2 separate regions of the Homo sapiens genome follow, and region 1 is linked to region 2. Evidence: promoter capture Hi-C in human tissues and cell types (Jung and others, 2019). All regions are on one chromosome and are shown on one strand. Each heading gives the region's core, a stretch centred on a gene start or on the middle of the fragment in contact. The rest is flanking DNA. Distances are from core to core; before and after follow the strand shown.

What was found. Contacts are between HindIII fragments. The study calls those that stand out against the background at their distance.
Region 1: a contact is called between a fragment that was not itself captured here and the fragment with the promoter of SHCBP1L in region 2, in 6 of the 25 tissues and cell types used here (bladder, heart left ventricle, liver and 3 more).

Annotation. Positions count from the first base shown.
Region 1 is chr1:183,204,001-183,208,835 of GRCh38, forward strand. It overlaps LAMC2 (laminin subunit gamma 2), which reads left to right. Exons shown (of 23, transcript NM_005562.3): 2 at 3,881-4,069. Among named protein-coding and RNA genes, the nearest start is that of LAMC2, 20 kb to the left of the region's middle. The HindIII fragment of the contact is 8,578 bases long and covers 1-4,835 here.
Region 2 is chr1:182,950,781-182,955,546 of GRCh38, forward strand. It overlaps SHCBP1L (SHC binding and spindle associated 1 like), which reads right to left and starts at 2,386. Exons shown (of 10, transcript NM_030933.4): 1 at 1,949-2,386; 2 at 538-687. The coding sequence starts at 2,353. It also overlaps the pseudogene LOC100271717. The HindIII fragment of the contact is 8,802 bases long and covers 1-4,766 here.

The DNA.
Region 1 (4,835 bases), core at 1-2,500, 250 kb after region 2:
GACAATGGGGCAGGCATGGTAGCTCATGCCTGTAATTCCAGCACTTTGGGAGGCTGAGGTGGGAGGATTGCTTGAGGCCAGGAGTTTAAGACCAGCCTGGGCAATACCACGAGAACCTGTCTCTACCAAAAAGTAACACATTTAGTTGAGTGTTGTGGCATGCATCTGTGGTCCCAGCTACTCGGGAGGCTGAAGTGAGAAGATGGCTTGAGCCCGGGAGGTTGAGGCTGCAGTGACCCGTGATCACACCACTGCACTCCACTCTGGGTGACAGAGTGAGACTCTGTCTCAAAAATAACACAAAAGAAAATAGGCTGGGTATGGTGGTGCACACCTGTAATTCCCAGCACTTTGAGAAGCCAAGGTAGGCGGATTGCTTGAATCCAGGAGTTTACGACCAGACTGGGCAACATGGTGAAACCCCGTCTCTACAAAAACAAAAAACAAACAAACAGAAAAAAAAAAAAAAACCACTACAAAAATTAGTTGGGCATGGTGGCACACGCCTCTATTCCCAGCTACTTGGGAGGCTGAGGTTGGAGAATCGCTTGAGCCCAGGAGGTTGAGGCTACAGTGAGCTGAGATTGTGACACAGCACTCCAGCCTGGACAACAGAGTGAGATCCTGTCTCAATAAAAATAAAAATTAAAATAAAAGAAGGACACCTATTATTTTCAAAGTAGAGCTTTAGAGGAGGAGACAGAAGAGGGATGTGATAGAAAAAGATTATAACAAGTTTATATATTTTGAAAAGATTGCTCTGAATAAATATATAATGAGCTGCCCTTATGAAGTTAATTTTTACCACCACAAAGCATGTTCTTTTTTTTTTCTTTTTTGAGACAGAATTTTGCTCTTGTCACCCACAGTAGAGTGCAATGGCACAATCTCAGCTCACTGCAACCTCCTCCTCCCAGGTTCAAGTGATTCTCCTGCCTCAGCCTCCCAAGTAGCTGGGATTACAGGCACCTGCCACCACTCCCAGCTAATTTTTGTATTTTTAGTAGAGACGGGGTTTCACTATGTTGGCCAGGCTGGTCTCAAACTCCTGACGTCAGGTGATCCACCCTCCTTGGCCTCCCAAACTGCTGGGATTACAGGCGTGAACCACTGTGCCCAGCCCATGTTCTAAATAAGAAAGGCACAATGAAAAATTTGTAGTTATTTTGAGATTGCTTCCAAAAGGCATCCAGGGCAGGGAGGGCATTGGCTCATTGGGTTAGCCAGATGAAGAACCTCGCAAGGACTGCTGAACAGTGAATTTAGCTCTTGTACGTGCATAGTCATGTACTTGGTACAAATTTCACAGCACATGACAGCTGTGTGGCACATCTGTTGGAGATCCAAAAAATCAGTTTCACAAGCATTGGTTGGGAAAGATTCAGCTTGGCACTAGTTCTGAGAAAAGCCCTGGGACTTTGAATTGTGTGCAAATGTAATATGCTGTAAGTTCACTGAAATGTTAGTCTTTGCCCATGGGATAAAAATATCTAGTCCTGTTACAAGCCAAGCTGTTTAAATCACACTTGCAGTACTGGTCATATGAAGAAGGATACTGGAAATTAGAATTTGTTCCTAGGATGGTAGTCAAGAAGAATCTAGAAATTATGACATAGGAAGTGGTTGAAAGACTTGGAGATGACAGATCTGTAGTCCAACTTGAACAGGAAAAGACTAAGGAGGGAGATGCCATAGCTATCTTCAGATTCACAAAAGCCTGATGACGCAGGGCCCTTTGGATGTAAAACAACACCCAAAGATTATGTCTGTTGGATAAATAAAAGAATAAAAAGAGAGTAGGGGTGTGTGTGTGTGTGTGTCTGTGTGTGCCTGAGTGCTGTATGTATCTGTGTGTGTTGTGTGTGTATGTTTTCAGGCAAGAGCAAAAACACATGATGAAAATTACAGAAAGAGAGGTAGATTTAAAACACCATATAAAAATGTTACTGTTTGTAACAACCAAGCTGAATGACCCTCTATTAGGGATTTATAAAAAGAATGTCTACATGCAATGGTAAACTCAATCTTGAGAAGGAACATAAAATGGAAAGATGAGGGCTTTGGAGTCAGACACATCTGGGAGCAAATTACATCTTTGCCATTTAGCTGTGTGACTTTAGGCAAGATACCTAGCCTCTCTGAGTATTTGTTTTTCCATCTATTAAATGGGGATAATAAAACCCATGTTAAAATGTTGTGAGAATTAACTGAGCTGTCGAATGTAAAGTCCTAGAAACAGTATGCTTTGGATAAGTGTTAGCTGACTTTTCTAGATTAGATGTCATCCAAAGTAGAAAGAGTGAGTTATAGAAATTACTGTAAGGCAGTCACTTAGCAGGTCCATTAGATGTACGTGGTCACCGCTGGGCACGGTGGCTCACGCCTGTAATCCCAGCACTTTGGGAGGCCGAGGCAGGCGGATCACCTGAGGTCAGGAGTTTGAGACCAGCCTAGCCAACACTGGCGAAACCCCATCTCTACCAAAAATATAAAAATTAGCTGGGCATGGTGGTGCGCACCTATAATCCCAGCTACTTGGGAGGCTGAGGCAGGAGAATCACTTGAACCCAGGAGGCAGAGGTTTCAGTGAGCTGAGATCATGCCACTGCACTCCACACTCCAGCCTGGGCGACAGAGCAAGACTTGGTCTCAAAAAAAAAAAAAAAAAGATGTACATTGTCCCCTTGTATTGTCAGTGCCTGACACAGAGCCTGCACAGGGAGCCACTCAGCAGGTGATGGCACATCTGTTGACTTTATTGTCAGCACTATGGTTAAGTCACGCCCTAGAAACATATTCTCAATATGGCAGCATGGCCAACAGAGACAGCCTGTGTAGGGAAGGGAGGTTGGTGTTCGCATCAGGCAGAGGTTCAAATCTCAGTTCTCCACTGGGTGGAGTTACTTCACCTTTCCGAGCTGCATGTTTCTCTTCTGAGGCAGTACGTGTTTCATGGAGTGAGTGATGAAATCGCATATGCAAAGGCATTTGATATTCTTTTCCCAGAGGGATCCTCTTTACAATCCAGGGAGGCAGATAATGCAGTCTGTATGGAAGAAAAAACAAGATTCAGAAAATTGAAGTGATGTGCCCAAGGAAATAGCAGAATTGGTATTTGATTCTTTCCTTTTAACCTGAAGGCCCATCATCTCTCTCTCCGAGACCATGACGGAAACATTTTTTGGTGTCTCAGTGTGCCGGGTACTATGCTGGGTGTTTCCGTGTTTCGCTTCTTTGCTGTTCGGGTCCTTATGGAGATGTTAGTCACTTTGCGAGTCTCTTTGGAACATCTGCAGGATGGGCTTCCTAGATACTTGAGAAAGGTCATTCTTCATGGGACACTTGGCTTTGGGAGGAGACATGTGCCCAGACGGTCACGTCCACTCCTTTGCCTTGACGGGCACCGGTGGGATGGGTGTTGTGTATCTTGAGCAGCGACACCATCGGCTAATAGCTGTGCTGAGTCCGCAGCTGCCCATCCTCAGGTCTCCGTGAGCCCACACACTTGCTCTGTGGGATTGCAGTGTTTTGAAATGAACTCCTTGCAAACATTTAAATCAGAAATATCCGCATAAAAATGTAATTTAACATTTTGGGTTTCTCTCGAGGAACTGGACAGTCTGGCAACCCTGAGCCCATGTTCTCCCAGACAGCAGCCCACCAGCATTGCATAGTGCCTACTTCCTTTAAGTGGAGCAGGCGTCCCCGGGGTCCCTGCACTGCCAATTGCACTCCCATATCTTCCTCCCGCAAGGAGTGTAGGTTACCATATAGTACTCATGCATAATTTCTATCAATAATAACATAAACACCTGCTAGAACAGTTCCTGAGGTGTTTTTTTTTTTTTTTGACGATCTCTTTTGTATGCTTCCTCCCCAGTCTGTGATTGCAATGGGAAGTCCAGGCAGTGTATCTTTGATCGGGAACTTCACAGACAAACTGGTAATGGATTCCGCTGCCTCAACTGCAATGACAACACTGATGGCATTCACTGCGAGAAGTGCAAGAATGGCTTTTACCGGCACAGAGAAAGGGACCGCTGTTTGCCCTGCAATTGTAACTCCAAAGGTAGCTGAAAAGGACGGAAAGAGGGAGAGGGAGATGGAGCAGTGGGGAGACAAGAGGGAAGGAAGGAAGGAGGAAAAGAAGAAGGAAGGGAACAACGGAGGAAAAAGAAAGAAAACAGGGAAAGCAAGCAGGCCAAGAGGGAGATGTTCAACCTCACCAACAACTGGGAACCTACCAGACATTGGTCTTTTTAGCAGTTTCAATCTGAAAGGAAACATGTTTCTCTTAAGTAGGGGTTGGTGGAACCAGTTGGGACCTTGAGGGCATGTTGTCTTGAATTCTAATACAAAGAGTCACATTATTAACTTTTCCAGGCAGGTGACAGTCTTTTGCAAGCAGATGACAAAGGAAGCTTGCACTCTTTCAGGGATAGTTCTTCATATCCATAGCCATCCATTTGACCAACCTCTTGAAAAATAAGGAATTAGAAAGATCTGTTTCTAGTGCTGTGCTAGGTGCTAGCAATATGAAGTTGTACTAATAAAGGAGACAGACAAGTAAACAGGAAAATTGAAGTCTTTCATTAGGTTGCTAAAAAGATAAAACAAAATAACAAATAGGAAACACCTAATGGGGTGGCTGGTTCATAGGAGAGCTAGTTTGTTTTTTTGTTTTGTTTTGTTTTTTTGAGACAGGGTCTCACACTGTTGTCCAGACTGGAGTGCAGTGGTGCCATCTCGGCTCACTGCAACCTCCGCCTCCTAGGTTCAAGCGATTCCCCTGCCTTAGCTTCCTGAGTAGCTGGGATTACAGGCACCCACCACCA
Region 2 (4,766 bases), core at 1,136-3,635:
CTGTTGCCCAGGCTGGAGTGCAGTGGCATGATCTCAGCTCACTGCAAGCTCCGCCTCCTGGGTTCACACCATTCTCCTGCCTCAGCCTCCCTAAAAAGGGTACTTTTCAAAGGAAAAAAATTTCAAATTTTCCCAGTAGTTTTCTGATCCATTTCTTTTTTTTTCCTCATCTGAACTAAACTTCTTAATTCAGATAAATGAAGATTAAAGGGAAAAGACAGAAAAAGAAGGCCCAAGTTTGTTAAAGACTGAATCACTAATTTTATAAGAAATGCATTTTTGTTATTTTTACATTAGTTGAGCAAAAACTAGGCTAATAAATATTGTCTGATACTACTAGATTCCATTTAATGATAATGGTTTACAGGCACTAATATTCCCCTAACCTTCTTTTTACACTATTAATTTTCTCGGAAACTTAAAACAGAAGTAAAAATGTGTCAACTCTTGTGTATCAATCTCCAAATAATAAAGTCATATTTTAGTCTTTAAAAGAACTGATTCAAAAAGAACAAAGATCAAATAAAATTTATTTACCTCAACCAATATACCAACAAAAGGGATAGAAGCTTCTTCATATTTCACAAAGAATACACTGGGATTAGTCTTCCAGACTCCAAGCCATTTGTCTTTCAACTTTAATTTTTCTGATAGGTATTTACCCATAACTTCATCAGCATCTTCTGCCTAACAAGAGAAAAAATGGATCTACATATAAATATATGAAATTATAGATTTTAAACTAAGTGGTTTTTTTTTTTTTTACTGATTTCTATTTTAAAATGGAACCAATATAGCCTTAAATAATGAATGACCTGGAAAATTACAGATTTTAACTGAAACCGCATCTAGTGGAAAACATCACCAACAAAAAATTAAACTTAAAAGAGATCTATTCACTCGAATAATTCATAGATAAGACAGCTAGTTATTGTTTATGTCTTAATTTTCAACTTTTTATAAATATCACTGCAGTGAATATGCAGGTACACAAATTCTTCTGCTACAACTTAAAAAAATAGGTTAGAAACATGAAATATTTGCTCTATTCCGTTTTATCAGATATGTATTTTCTATAAAAGAAAGTCATGCCACCAGGCACGGTGGCTCATGCCTGTAATCCCAACACTTTGGGAGGCCGAAGCGGGCAGATTACCTGAGGTCGGGAGTTCGAGTCCAGCCTGACCAACTGGAGAAACCCCATCTGTACTAAAAAAAAATACAAAATTAGCCAGGCGTGGTGGCTCATGCCTGTAATCCCAGCTACTCGGGAGGCTGAGGCAGGAGAATTGCTTGCACCGGGAGGCGGAGGTTGTGTGAGCCGAGATTGCCCCACTGCATTCCGGCATGGGCAACAAGAATGAAACTCCGTCTCCAAAAAAAAAAAAAAAAAAAAAAAAAAAAAAAAAAAATATATATATATATATATATATATATATATATATATATATATATACACACACACACACACACACACACATTTATATATATATATACACACACATATATATCATGCCGCATTGTGGACTGCTGAGTGGGAAGTACCCTTAAAGTAATTTCTAGCATTCTAGTGTAAAAGTCAAGGCTAAGTGATCTTACTCATGTTTGGACATAAACTGTTAAATAAAGGTACCAAGATTCATGCCTGTGCAATGATAAGGCCAATATATCTTCATTTTTTAGGAGCTCTCAGAAAATTCTCTCTCAGGGCTGTCCCGTTACCTGACGAATTTTGTCGGAAACTCGAACCTTAACTCCTCTAGGGCAGGACGCGGGCACCTCTAACAAGGTGAACGCTCTATACATGTTGACTCCATTTACTTTTTTGAAACGCAAGTTTTCGTTGTGCCCTGTGGATCCCCATCCGCCTAAGAGGGAAGCCCCAGATGCCTGTCCCCAGGTTCCGACGAGCTTCCGACCGTAGTCTTCCTGTCCCGGATCCGCTCACCTTACAGTCCTGCAGCACTTCGTCGCAATACAGCGACACCTTCTCGTCCCGCCACATCCCCCTCATACGGGACACGCAGACTGGGGGCAGGGGCTGCGCCTCCTCTTCATCCTCAGGCACTGGCAGCAGGGGCTCCTCCGCCGCCGCCGCCGCCGCCTCTCCCGTGTCCTCGGCCTGAGCCGCGGGCAGGCGCTGGAGCCGCAGCCTGGCCGTCTCCCGGCCCGCTTTCCCCTTCACCGGGCGAGGGGAGGCCACCACCGACCGCACTGGGATCGCGGTGCCCTTCAGGGTGGTCGCGGCCGCCGTGTCCCCGGAGACAGCGGAGGCGGACTTCTCGCCTCGCCTGTCCGGGCTGATGGTGCGGAATGAGTCCGCGGGCACCGAGGCCTTGGAGCCCGACGCCATCTCCTCAGCAGCCCGAGGGCCGAGGCAGCCGTTGGCCACTTTTCCCGCCCTCGGCCGCTCTGGCCAATAGGCGCTCTGCGCTTCAGGCCCGCAACGAGCGGCTGCTCGAGGGCGTCCCGCCGGGTGGGGTGTTGCGGCTCTGGGAGGGATGTGAGGCGCGGCCCAGAGCTAGGGGGTGCGGGGCCTGCGGGTAGAGCGCGGGGTCCTGCGGACGCATTCAGGGTGCTGGGGGGCGCTGCTCAGAGCTAGGTGGGACAGGGCGAAGCGCCTGGGCTCAGGACAGGGGTGGGGGGGCCCGGGTCAGTGTTGGGTGCGGCTCCGTGCCGAACCCCCACCAGGTGCCGCACACACCAGAAGGTGCCAGACGAGCCCAACGCAATGGCTCTAACCCCAGCCCTCTGTCTCCCCCAGGGGAGGTTTCCTTAGGGTCCTCATACGTTTCAGGGTGATTATGAGTCACCTTCCAGGTCATCAGGACCTAAAAAAATGCTCCACCTACCACTCCACAAACAAAGCCTGAAAGAAAATTTATTTTCATACTGGGAGGTGACACTAACTGGAACCCTCTGGCTATTACTAGAGGAAACCCTAGTGACAAATCCAGCAACCTAGATTTCCCTTTTAGCCCCCACCTATTACAGGGTTCACCAAATAGGATTTCCTTTACATTTTAAATAGGACTTTCACTTTTTGCCAAGATGTGGTCATACCAAGGAGAAGTTAGTCTGTTTTCTTGTCTCTGTTGTGCTATTCAAAATTCTCACATAAAAGATTATATTATATAACTGTTAAACTGGACAACAACTTCCAGCTGGGAGTGATGTGTGCAAACTATGAACACTTTCACGATAAAAGTCTGTTCCAGATCATACATTTTGGAGAACAACAGAGACCACTCACTTCTGGTATTTTACTGTTGAATGTATATTGAGCCAATTGGAATTAACGTTTGTTCACAGTCTAGCTGTGAAATACTGCACTGAAGCTGACAGCTCCCAAGGAGAACAGCATTGGGAAAACACCTGCCTTCCTTCACACTCGTCTGGAAGAACACTATGTTAAATTCTGAGTTTATTTTGAGGAAAATATTAACATCATGTGGCTGGGCGCGGTGGCTCACGCCTGTAATCCCAGCGCTTTGGGAGGCCGAGGCGGGCGGATCACAAGGTCAGGAGATCGAGACCATCTTGGCTAACACGGTGAAACCCCGTCTCTACTAAAAATACAAAAAATTAGCCGGGCGCAGTGGCGGGCGCCTGTAGTCCCAGCTACTCGGGAGGCTGAGGCAGGAGAATGGCGTGAACCTGGGAGGCGGAGCTTGCAGTGAGCCGAGATTGCGCCACTGCAATCCGGCCTAGGCTAAAGAGCGGGACTCCGTCTCAAAAAAAAAAAAAAAAAAAAAATTAACATCATGTTACTGTAGTTTAGGGAATAATTACAACATGCATCATGTTTCAATTCTATTCTTACTTTATTCCTTTCGTTGAGTCCTGGACTTTGTTTATAACAATACTAACTGCATATTTCACTCACACACACACACACAAATGTTTTACTCTAGTGTTTCTTCAAAAGTTTGTTTTTGATAAATTATGGGTTTTTTAATTCTTAGGTTCTGAATAATAAAGACCACCTGTCCTGGGCCAAAGTTTAAAAACAGCAACAGCTCCCTTTTCCTCCAAAAGGCAAATACTTGTTAGAAATCTGTTACATGCCACACAATGCGTAGATGCCACAGTTATAGAGGTAAAAGACCAAATCCCTGCCCTCGTAATCCTAGTGAAAGATACAGATGGGTCAGTAGATGATTGTGTTTGGTAAGGACCATGCTTTTATTTATGTAAATACACATAAATACATACATATATATATTTATATACACACAAATAATTTGTATTTATTTATGTGTGTATATATATGCGTGTGTGTGTGTGTGTGTGTGTGTATATATATACACATATATTCCACATTGTAGGAGAAAAGGACCTTTCTTCTCCAAAGAAGGGATACTTAAGCTGAGTTTTTAAAACAACTTTTTTCTTTTTTTTTGCCTCCCAAAGAAATTTAGCTTGTTTCTCCCACCTCCTGTCTCCTCCAGGATGCTTTGACAAATGGAATACCACTGTCCCTTTTTCCTACAATGACTCCCTTCTCCCAACACAGAGCTCCCAATGCCCAGGCTCAAGATCGGCTTTCAGTTCCACCCATGGCCACTGCGTTTCTTGGTCATTCTTCAAGGGGTCTTTGTGTTCTCAACCTTCTGCCGCAATCCCAAGTGGAAGCTCTGTTGGCTCGCCCTCTAGTCCTCTTCCTGCTGAGCCAGTCTTCAACTAGGAATCACACCAGAGTCACCAGGACAAGGAAAGCTAGGCCCATCTGAAGGAGATTCTGGGCAGTGTGGTCTCAGAGGGCA